Regions from separate parts of the Homo sapiens genome. Here region 2 is linked to region 1. The links are contacts of gene promoters, found by promoter capture Hi-C in human tissues and cell types (Jung and others, 2019). All regions are on one chromosome and are shown on one strand. Each heading gives the region's core, a stretch centred on a gene start or on the middle of the fragment in contact. The rest is flanking DNA. Distances are from core to core; before and after follow the strand shown.

Evidence for each region. The method cuts DNA at HindIII sites, captures the fragments that hold promoters and counts their contacts. A contact is called where the count stands out against the background at its distance.
Region 2: a contact is called between the fragment with the promoter of RNF43 here and the fragment with the promoter of VEZF1 in region 1, in 1 of the 25 tissues and cell types used here (mesendoderm cells).

The regions. Positions count from the first base shown.
Region 1 is chr17:57,986,283-57,991,693 of GRCh38, reverse strand. VEZF1 (vascular endothelial zinc finger 1) reads left to right here and starts at 3,440. Exons shown (of 6, transcript NM_007146.3): 1 at 3,440-3,615. The coding sequence starts at 3,583. It overlaps LOC101929185 (a long non-coding RNA gene), which reads right to left and starts at 3,584. Exons shown (of 1, transcript XR_001752716.3): 1 at 660-3,584. It also overlaps a transcript of SRSF1 not described here. RefSeq lists enhancers at 2,838-2,977, 2,998-3,047 and silencers at 3,198-3,477, 3,548-4,027, 4,108-4,177. The HindIII fragment of the contact is 6,267 bases long and covers 919-5,411 here.
Region 2 is chr17:58,416,056-58,421,733 of GRCh38, reverse strand. RNF43 (ring finger protein 43) reads left to right here and starts at 4,200. Exons shown (of 10, transcript NM_017763.6): 1 at 4,200-4,717. It overlaps HSF5 (heat shock transcription factor 5), which reads left to right. Exons shown (of 6, transcript NM_001080439.3): 6 at 1-1,567. The HindIII fragment of the contact is 9,725 bases long and covers 1-5,678 here.

The DNA of each region.
Region 1 (5,411 bases), core at 2,191-4,690:
AACCTCTGCTTTCCTCCCTGAGGAGTTTGGAGTATTTAAGGGGGGATGGGGGGGGTGTCACTTTGAAAATATGTTGCTTTTTCTCCTGATTGTATTGAGGCTGATATGGAAGGGTTATTTCTTTCTGGCCAATACTTTTTGGTATTTCTAAATATTGCAATCTTGATTTTTACTATTAAATTTGTTAATTGTCAGTTCTGGCTTTTTTGCATAAAGAGTTGGTCCATTAACTTGCCAATTTGAAGCTTCTAACTAGATATTCCCTACTGAAAGTTTTGGATTTGTTTTTAGTTTGTGGAGCAGTCTTAGCTGGGGACAGGTAATTGACAACGGCAGAGATACTTTCTTTTCCTAGGATTCTAAGTCTGTAATCCACATCCTCAATGTATTCACAGGACTTTAAAATTCTCTCCAAATGAGGAAGGAAATATCCTGTTGCTTTCTAATGTTTACTAAAAGTTGTGTTTAGAACAACAGATTTTAATAGGCATCTTCCTTTGTTATGTGTCATTAGCCCTTTGCCCGTTTACCTTAGGGCTCTTTGAAGGAGAAATGGATGGGAGAAAACCTGTCACTTGGCGAAAGTAAAAGGGATAATTAACTGGCTCAGAGCTTATGTGCAGAGTTCCAAGCCCCAAAGTTAATCTAGAACCACTCGATAACACCAATAAAAATATTTATTTCACATCTGTTATATATCTGGAAAATGTTCTAAGCATCTTACACATATTTCTCATTAAATCCACAGGTGACCATTGTGAGGTAGATATTTTGTTCTAATTTTCCAGATGAGGAAGCTGAGACCCTAAAAGGTTAGGTGACAGGTTATACAACTTGGAGTGTGGGAGGAGGAGAGAGGAACCTGAACAGGGCAAGTTGGGGATCTGACTTTTGTTTGGGTAGATGTAGGCACATTGTATTTTTGGCTTAGATGCTTTATTCATCATGGCTGAAGGTAATACCATTTACTCACTCACCGAAAATTGTTTACAATAATCTAGATGAATTTGCTGTCTTTGGACATCTGTCTTTTGACTGGACCCCAGTATATAGTCTGTGGAAGCTCACTTAAGGAGAGAGCTCCTTTTTGTTTGGTTAGAGAAATTTTCTGTCCTAAAAGTAGAAATAGCCCCTTCTAGGTAAGGATGGAGCATTTGATCATACTGGTTTCATTATATTCCTCTAACAGTTGGAACCGATTGTTTTTGAGTACTTGTTTCAAACTTCTGAGTATTTTCCTTCTGGAAAATAGCTCAGTGTTTAAAATTTACATGAACTTAAAAGGTTAATTTTTTTTTAAAGAATGTTTGAGGAGCAATCAATTCTGATTTTGTCTTATGGATAGAAATAGAATTAGCCATTTTCCTCAAGAAAAGTGATTCTTCTGAATCTTAGCTTTTCAGTAATGAGAACTGGACTGTTTCCACTTGACCTCTATTTCCTGTTAGTGGGAAACCGCTTCCCAGAGGTGCTGTGTGAAAGATTGCTGGGGAAAGGGTTTCTAGATCCCAGCATAACAAGTTCAAGAGTCCAGCGATATTGTCATTAGAATAATGGTCTTCATTAAGTACTAGTTTTCATAATCCTGAAGCTTCATTTTCACCAATTTGAAAGGCAGCTAGGGAGGAGAAGACTATGCAGGGAAGGAGGAAAACTCTGGAGTGCATCACAGAGACCTTGAGTGAGTTAAGGCAGGGAAGAAGCAGATTTGCTATCCACTGAATGAAAATAAGAAGAATTCCATTGTCCAAGGTCAGAGCAAGAACACAAAGGTTTTAGTTTACTTAGTTAATTCCTTAGGTTTGGACATTACAGGAGACATGGGGGTGACCATAGCAATTTAGCTGATAAATGTATCAGAAACTCTTTCATCATTTTCTGTCCCCTCCTATCTTAGGCTGACCGGTTCCCTGATGTGTTACCTGCTTCTGCTACTGATCCAAACTGCAGAACTTCTCATTCATCCCCAAGGCCTCCAGGCAGTATCCAATGGGGAATCAGCTCTAAAAGGAACCAGACCAACGTTTTCCAGCCCCTTCATTCTGGTGACTGAGGGGAGGAAAGAATGGGAGGGGGTATTCTTGTCTAGTGGATGGAAAGGAAACACACTGTCAAATTACTATATCTCCTTGGTTTTCTATTACAGTAGAATTCTCCAGCCATATTTTTATTGTCTATGGGGGAAGTTGGAGATGGTGACCTTGATTAGAAGTGTCTGGAGGGGGATAAATGGAGGGGATAAGATTCAGTTGGTTTTGGAAAATGTTAAAGTCTTAAAATAATGCGTCCATCTGAAGAATTTTTTCTAAAACCAGAGTTTATAAAAATATCACTGATACAGCCTGCCCCCTCATTTCCCTGCCACAGGAGATGTCTTGGACTAGAGACACTTGTTTAATAATAGCTTGTCTCTGATATTCCCAGTAGCTTCCCTCTGTGTGAGGAAAGGATAGAAATGTTCAGGACATCATCATACAGGCTCCTCATCTACAAAGTTCCAGTAGCAGTGACGCCTACACGGAAGACTTGGAACTGCAAACAGGCTGGGGTCACCTCAGTGACATCTGACGCTGTCCAACCAGAAGTTCGATTTTTGTTCTGGGGGTGAAGGAGGAAACAGACTGTACTAAAGGACTAAAATAATTTGTCTATACTATCTCACTTGTTTTTATTTTTGGCGGGAGAGGAGGGGTGTTGGGATAGAATTTCACATCCTATCTTGGAGTGAAGGGGAGGATGGGGAGGCTCAGCCCTTCACCCAAGAATAACCCAGTAATGACATCTCTACGCGTGGGAAGTGTTTCCCTCCACACTGAGAGGATCTGAGGCTGCACCCCAGTGGGATTCCCTGCTTGAGTTGGAAGGCCATCTCGCCATGAGATGCATATCATAGCGAGAGCGCAGAGGGCTTAGCCGGCCGGGGAGGAAATGCCAAAAGGAAGAGAGGCTCGAAGTCGAAAGGGCTTCCCCCAGTTTGGAGGTGGGGACCATGCTGTGCATGAGCGACTGAAGAGCCGAGTGTCCGCCGTGGCCTGTGCCCTCCGCTGAGGGTCTAACAGGGACGCGACGGTGCTGGACACCGTGTCTGAGTCACGGGAGACGGCCCAGCTGTGCCCAGCGGGCCAGCGCCAGACCCTGGCGTCCTCCATCTTCTCTCCTGAGCTCCCCCTGCTCCAGCTGCCTGAGCCACGGACCGCAGCACCACACACCCCCGCGGGGGGGGACGCCGCGCCCCATCCCCGCCCCGGGCCCCACCCCAGCCCCCCCGCGGGGGCCCTGACCCCACCGCCAGCGGGCACTGGCTGAGCTCCGAGGCGGCGAGCCGGCAGCGGGGACGCCCAGAGGGGGTCCGGGCGACTGGGGGCGGCGGCGGCCGGGCCGGGGCTCCCCCCCCGCCCGCGCTCGCCGCCGCGGTGGTGCGTCCCGGAGGTTACCGGAAGTGGCCGCGCTCGGCGCTGCCATGTTGAGGAGCCGCCGCTGCCGTTGCCGCCGCCGCCGCCGCCGCTTTGTTGTCGCCTCCTCCGGCTGAGGAGGCTCCCCGAGCGGGGGGAGTGGGGAGGAGGGGGGTCGGCCGCCGCAGCCATGGAGGCCAACTGGACCGCGTTCCTGTTCCAGGTACTGGGGGCCCCCCCGGGGGGGCACGGGGGGGACAGGGGGGCCGGGCCCCGGGCTGGCGGGCGGGCGGGCGCTCCTCCTCCCCTCCCTCCCGGCTCCGCTCTCCGGCCCGGCCTTAATCCCCCTTTGTTTTTCCGCCCGCCCGCCCCGGCGAAGCGGGGCTGCTGAGGTGAAAGGAGGCGGCCTCACGGGGTGCGGGGGAGATAGCAGGCCGCGGGGTGAACCCGGGGGCCCCCCAGCACACACACGCACACACACACACTCACACACACCCTTCCCTCTCGCTCTGAAGGGGAAGGGAGGAGGCCGGTCGCTGTCACCACCCCGCGGCCCAGAGAAAGGAGGGCGCCGGGCCGCTGGATAGCGCGGGCTGCTGGGCCATTGCGTGCCGGCCCGGTCCCCCACGGTGGGGTGAGGAGGTCCCCAGGTCCTGCCCTGAGTCTCCTCCCCGCCACTTCATCCATCTTTCGCTTGTTCTCTTTTCACCTTCCTCGTCTTTTTGTGTGTGTGCGTGCGTGTGTTGACTTTCTGACCCCCTCCCGTGTCCCCGCGAATAGCGGGTATCCCCAGGTTCCCCGCCACTCCCCCTCACCGCCACCACCCCTCTCGTGTTTACCCAGTTGGGGGGGCGGATGTTGTGAGTGTGTATCCCCTCCCCAAACTTTTTCACTGGATTTACATTTTTTTTTCCCAAGTCTCAGCCGAGCCTTGGCAGCTGACACCTTCTCCCTCTGTCCAGCTCTCCCGCCGTCCCATTCAGCCTGGGGAATCCCCCAGCCGGGCCGGCCCGGGGCAGGCGGGGAGCGGTGGGGGCCGGGACTCCTGGAGGCCCGACCTTCTCCCGAAGCGCTTTTCTTTCTCGCCCACCTCGAACGTTTCCTCCAACCAAGTGGAGAGAGCAAACAAAGTCCGCTTACAAAGCCCCCAGATGAGTCACTCTCTGGGATGTTGGTCTTCGCTTTTTTGCAAGAAACTTGAAAGTGACTGTAGCCGATGTGTTTTGGCAATTCTCTTGCCCGCCCACTTTAGATGGGGGACCCCTGTTTGGCAGATCTAGGCTGGAACTTATTTTTTTCCTACTTCGTTTCTGTTTGCAAAACGAAGCATTCAGTGGGCAGTAGCGATGAGCTCACGGGGAAACTTCGGAACTGGAGGAGGTTAGGAAGCTCGTCACTTTTAAGTGCGTTCTTCCCGCCTCTCTGAGTTATTTTCCTTTGAATACTTCGTGAAATCCCAAACGCGTAGCTGGGGCGCTTGATACCTTTTGAAACTAACAGGAACGGATGCAGAATTTTCAAAAAATTATTCTCCCAGCCACTGGATTCATCCTAGTGGAGTTAATATAGAGAATTGGATAACTCAGAAATTACCTACTGTGTAGACTGGCCTGTTGTTTTAAGACATATTTTTTCAAATGTGGGCAATTTGATCTTTAAGTAGTTATGGAAATATATTTGGGCTTCTTAAAATCTAAAATACCCAACATTATGGAATTCATGAACTTCCCCCTTTTCTCATTCTGATCAGTGTTGTTTTATTGTACTTTGATGAGCTTGCTAATAATGTGATAAACCAACTTGAAAATGCATTGGAAAAGAAATGATATATAACTAGCATGCATCCAGGTTGGTGTAAAGGTGGCAAATACTTTCCCCAGAAAAAAGCTCAAATGGTTATTTTAAAATATGGGATTGATGTGCCACTGAAGTGATTTTCGTGTGATTAAAAACCATATTAAGCATGGTGTCTATAGAGATTGAAAAAAAAAAGTGTTCTTCATGTAAAGGAAAAACCCA
Region 2 (5,678 bases), core at 2,951-5,450, 430 kb before region 1:
GCCCCTGATTCTTTTATATTAATGGAAGCATTCTTCTATTTTCATATCTTTCTTTAATTTTAATGATACATTATCATAAATGGTAAAAAGATTTTATTAATATATCACTTATTTAAATGTCTTTAAAGAAAGTATTTAACTTGTTTAATATAATTGTATTTATAAATGCTGATAGATTTAAAGGTTTTAAAGTTTTATATTTTTATTATTGCAGGATAGAAGGATAAAGGATGCATGTGTAGTATTTTTATTTTGAAAGGAAAATGTACAATGTGTGAACAAAAACATTAAGAGATTTAATATACTATTTTCTTATTTTAGATTTTTACATTCAATAAGTATAAATTCTCATCTATATAAGGTATTGTGTGCAAATTTGGGAAAAAACTGATTAGCAGCCATTTAGTAGAAGCTATGCCTCTGATTTTTAAAGAATGGTTTCAATCTGGTTTAAGCTTCTGAGAGAATTTTGGATAATGGGATAGATGGTAACATTTTTTTCTTATCCCTGTTACAGGATTCTAGATTTGTGCAGTAGGATTGTGGGACTGTGTTTTAGGAGAGAAGGATGTCTTGGATGTCCAGTTTCTGTGGTTAATCCCTTACTTGCTTATCCAGTGACAGCAAGAAACTTTCTGATTTAAAGTCTTTCAATTGACCAAAACTTTCTTATTGGATTCTGTTTCAGTTCTCCTATTAAGCACTGCAGAAACGAAAGGAAAGCCTAGGAATATGAAACTAATTAAAAAGGCACTTGGTGATATGACATAGTACTATGCTAGCCGTTGTGGATGTAACAGTTCATTTCTTATACTGCATTGTGCCTTCCCAATGATGTCAAACCCTAGAAATATTACAGAGATCTACTTTTCTGGAAAAGGGTGAGCTCTGTATTGATCTGCAGTGACTCTGTTTAGATATTAAAGTAGGTTCTGAAAAGCGACCTGTGTGGTCCCTCTGATTAGACTAGTTAATGTCTATGTGATGGGCATTTATTTATCTTTATTAGCAAGGTTTAAAAGAGCAAATTATCAAGACACCTATATCTTTTGGCCAGACTATATAATATTTTGTCAGAGTATGTGAAGAGGAGACCCAATTTCCAAATGAAGGAACTTTGCTTTTTCTCTGTCATGTTGAAGAGCTAATATACTGTGTAGATTTTCCCCTAAATATGGCTTTCTTAGCTTTATAGATGTTGAGATAATATCTTTTGAGGAACACATGTCAAGCAGGAACCTTGGCATAGATTTGGTTTCAGTTGTTTTAAGGCTTAATTAATGAAATGCCTTAATCAGCTTTCCAAACATTTTTATATATGAATACAGCAGACCAAGGAGCTGGATCTCCTGCTATCCTTACACGCCTTGTATCTATCAACTAAAGCTGTCATTAATGACTTGGGCAAAATGGCAAGAGGTATAATAAAGTCTTCCTGTGAATTAGCCAGTAGGGTCTGACACAACTAGTCAACTAACAAGGTTCCTGACTAGTACCTCAGTATTTCAGCACCTTAAGCACTGATAAATTTCAATCAGTCAACAATAAAGTGAGTGTTCCAACTAGACTTGTTGTCTTGCTTGTTCTTACTGTTTGGTGATTAATAGAAAATTCAATAATTATGACAGTTAATAGTATAATTCAAATGAGATTTACTTTATTTTTCAAATAATCTGAATTTTAAAAGTTTTTTTTCATTTGTACTTGAATAGCAATGGAATTTTTTAAATGCCGTTAGGGATAAGGACAATTCTTAGACATGTTTTACAGAAACCTACATTTTTGGAAAAGGATGAATGATCTTTGATAAATTTAATCAATCCAGAGGTGAAAGTAGATCCTGAAGGATGATCTATCTCATGTATAAGACTAGCTAGTAGATGTCATTGAGACTTAGGCATTTCATTACAATAGTGATGGCATCTTTATGACATCTCTAGGAAAATGTAGTAGTATATCAACCCTAGAGGGTAACTCCAAAACTTTGAAGCTGAAGAATAATTGCTCTTGCAATTCTGGTGATCTAAAACAGTGAACTAAGCTACATAGAGCTGTTTGGTTTGATCTTGAGTTTCTCCAAGTCTCCAGGTTCATGATGCATATCATCATCATTTCCAAATCTCAGAGTTTCCTCAAGAGAGGGCAACCACATTTGTAACTGTCTTCTTTCTGTCAATTAAGTGTGTGTATTAATTACTAGGGCTAGGTCTTTTCATTCCTTTGCACGTTTTAAGCAGGAATAGATGAGGCAAAGCCCATTTGTAGGTTATTTTTTAGTTTAACTATGTTAAATTAAACTATGTTGGTCAGGCTGGTCTCAAATTCCCGACCTCGTGATCCACCCACCTTGGTCAACCAAAGTGCTGGGATTATAGGCGTGAGTCACCACGCCTGGCCCAACAAAAATTTTTTTTAAATTTGCAGGGTGTTGGCCAGGCGCAGTGGCTCACGCCTGTAATCCCAGCACTTTGGGAGACCGAGGCGGGTGGATCACAAGGTCAGGAGATGGAGACCATCCTGGCTAACACGGTGAAACCCCGTCTCTACTAAAAATACAAAAAATTAGCTGGGCGTGGTGGCGGGCGCCTGTAATCCCAGCTACTCGGGAGGCTGAGGCAGGAGAATGGCATGAACCGGGAGGCGGAGCTTGCAGTGAGCCGAGATAGCGCCACTGCACTCCAGCCTGGGCAACAGAGCGGGACTCCGTCTCAAAAAAAAAAAAAAAAAAATTTGCAGGGTGTGGTGGGACGCACCTGTGATCCCAGCTACTCTGGAGGCTGAGGTGGGAGGCCATGAAGGTCAAGGCTGCAGTGAGCCATGATGGCACAACTGTGCTCCAGCGTGGGTAACACAAGACCCTGTCTCAAACAACAAAAATAAACAAAAAATTTATTTTCGAATTTGTCTTTGATCTAGGTTAGTTATTAGATCTGAAATTCTGAAACTACTGTCATAAACCTTATCTACAGGGGAAACAATGTTGAAGGTCAATAGGCTACTCATCCTTTTTGCTTTCAGAGGCATTATGTCATTTAATCTTTACAACAGACCTATCGTAATTATTATCATCAGCATTTTACAGATGATCAGAGATTCGTTTTTACATGAGGTAAGAAACACATAAAATTTACTATCATAACCATTTTTAAGTGTACAGTTCACTAGATTTAACTATATCCACATTGTTGTTCATTTGTATAATTTTGAAAGTTTATGGCAGCGGTTCAGAAATAAAATGTCTCACCACAGTCAAATATAATCTGGTAATTTGAAACTTCAAATGTTATAAATGTATTAGAAACTGTTGTATTATTTCTAATGGCAGGGTAGTAATAAGGATTATAGTTCATGAATGTGGTAATTAGCCAGAAATTCATTTTCTTTTTGCCTATGTTCTTCTCATTAATCATATTTTACCCTTTGGCTTGTATTTATGACATGGACTTATTTGGAGTCTTACATTGAAGGCATAGGTCTGATCCATAGTATTATTTCACCTCCCAAAGATTGAAAAGAAAATAACAGTTGGATTCCAGACATCTGACATCAACCTGATTTGAAAGTTCCATATAGGCACAGTTTAGACAGAGCTACTGAATTTAAATTAGTAAGAGCTGAAGAAAAGCTAAGCATAAAATGGACAGAGCCCTTCCCAGGGTAGCAGACATAAGCAGCAATAAATCAGTAAGTACTAAAACACAGGATCACTTTATTCTGGCTTTCTGCCATTTATAGACACTCAAACTTGGAATGAGCAGAAATCCTTTTGAACTTATATTTGCAAAACCTTGTGTCCATTCTTTTATCTTCCGGATTACCTTTATTTTTTTCTGTTTATTTCCTCATACCATCATCTATGCTCTGTTGGGTGCAGAGTCTGCTTAGATATCTTTGAGTGGCCCTGATTTGCATGTGGTAGCTTGCTTACCCAGAGAAAGGTACTCGGGATCGAATTGGATGCAGTTTAGCTGTGGCTCAGTAGAGGGAGTAGAGGAGCTGAGGGAGGGGGGAGAGCGAAAGAACGGGTCTGGTTAAGTAAGTGTTGTGTGTGAGCACCAGGAGGAGGGGGGCAGGGTGGGGAGTGGTTGCCTCTAGCAGCTCCACCCTCACTTTGTCAGCAGGTAGAGAGCGTGATTGCAGTCCCAGGGGAGGGAGTCAGAGCTAGAACACCAATTACAAACCACAGGCTTCCTGCTCTAGGGAGTTGATCCAGAATTGTCTTTCTGAAAGGAAGCACTCGGAATCCTTCCGAACTTTCCAAGTCCATCCATGATTCAGAGATACTGCCTTCTCTCTCTCTGGGATTTTATGTGTTTCTGATAGTGAATTGTTGATGTATTTGCTACTTTGCTTCTTTTCTCTTTCAAGACTTGATCATTTTATATGCTGTTTGGAGAAAAAAAGAACTTTTGTTAGCAAGGAGGTTTCAGAAATGATTTTGGATTTTCTGTAAGTGTTTAATTTAGTTCTAGGGGACAGCATCTCTCATCCCGGAGTAAATTTCTGCCTTTGACCTGCATGGATTATTTTTTCAGGCTGCGGAATTTCTCGGCACCTACCTGTAGTATGGGGCACTTGGTTTGGTTGCAGAGTAAGAAGGTGGAAGAATGAGCTGTACTTGGTTAAGCAGTTGAAACCTTTTTTGAGCAGGATCTGTAAAAGCATAATTGAATTTGTTTCACCCCCGTGGATTCCAGTGGGCCCGACAGCGCAACAGGTTTGCAGATTTCTTTTGAAATTCCTTTTTCCCCCCTCCCTCTGCCTCAGCAAAAGAAAAGAATCCATATAACAGGTTCATGTTCAATTGCTTGGCTTTTCAGCACTTATTCTGAAGACTTTATAATATTTTTAAACTTGACCTTGGAACACAGAGGGCTTTGTGGGTGAGGTGTATTTATATTTACTTAAGGGTGCACATTTTAAAAATCTTATTCTGTGTTTGTACAAAGACGCAAATTTTCATAGTGCCTAGAAATAGCACAGATCTATTCTACTCAAGATTATTTGTATTTTTTCAGGGTATTCTACCTAGAGCCTGTGGTTAATCGCCTCCCTGCTCCCCCTACCTTTTATTCCCTACCCCCTCAGGGAATTTGGATACATGTGAGGAATAGTCCTTTGTTTTTCTTATGAACCTAGAAAATTACAGATCATAAAATCTGGATATTAAAGTAGTTTCCAAAAGCATCTCATGGGAAATCAAAGTGCTCGGCATTTCCGAGCTGGAGAATAAAATCAAGAATCCTTAAGAGAGAAAAGAAAATGGAGATGGAAATATGAATTTTAACTGGGAAAAATAATTGGAAAGCTAACCTTTTCAAATACTCTAATTATGAAAGTTGGAAAAGGTTGTGATGCTCAGGATTATCCTGTAATGTGTGAAGATACATAAATTAGCACCTAATTTATAGGCAAATTTTGGTAAAACACAAAAAATTATGGTATGTCTAAGTTCATGAAAAGTATGTAAATGCAGTGGGCCTAGAAACCTGGCCACACTGAAATACAGTTTAATGTGGAAACTTTTCTAAATACATATTGTAGCATCTTTGGACATCAACGTGTGGCCTGAAATTTTTATTATTGTTCCCTCTTCTCCTCCATTAAAAAAAAAATCTCCTTGTGGTATTTAGTCATTTACCATTAACACATATTATGGCTTAAAAAGGGCCATCCCT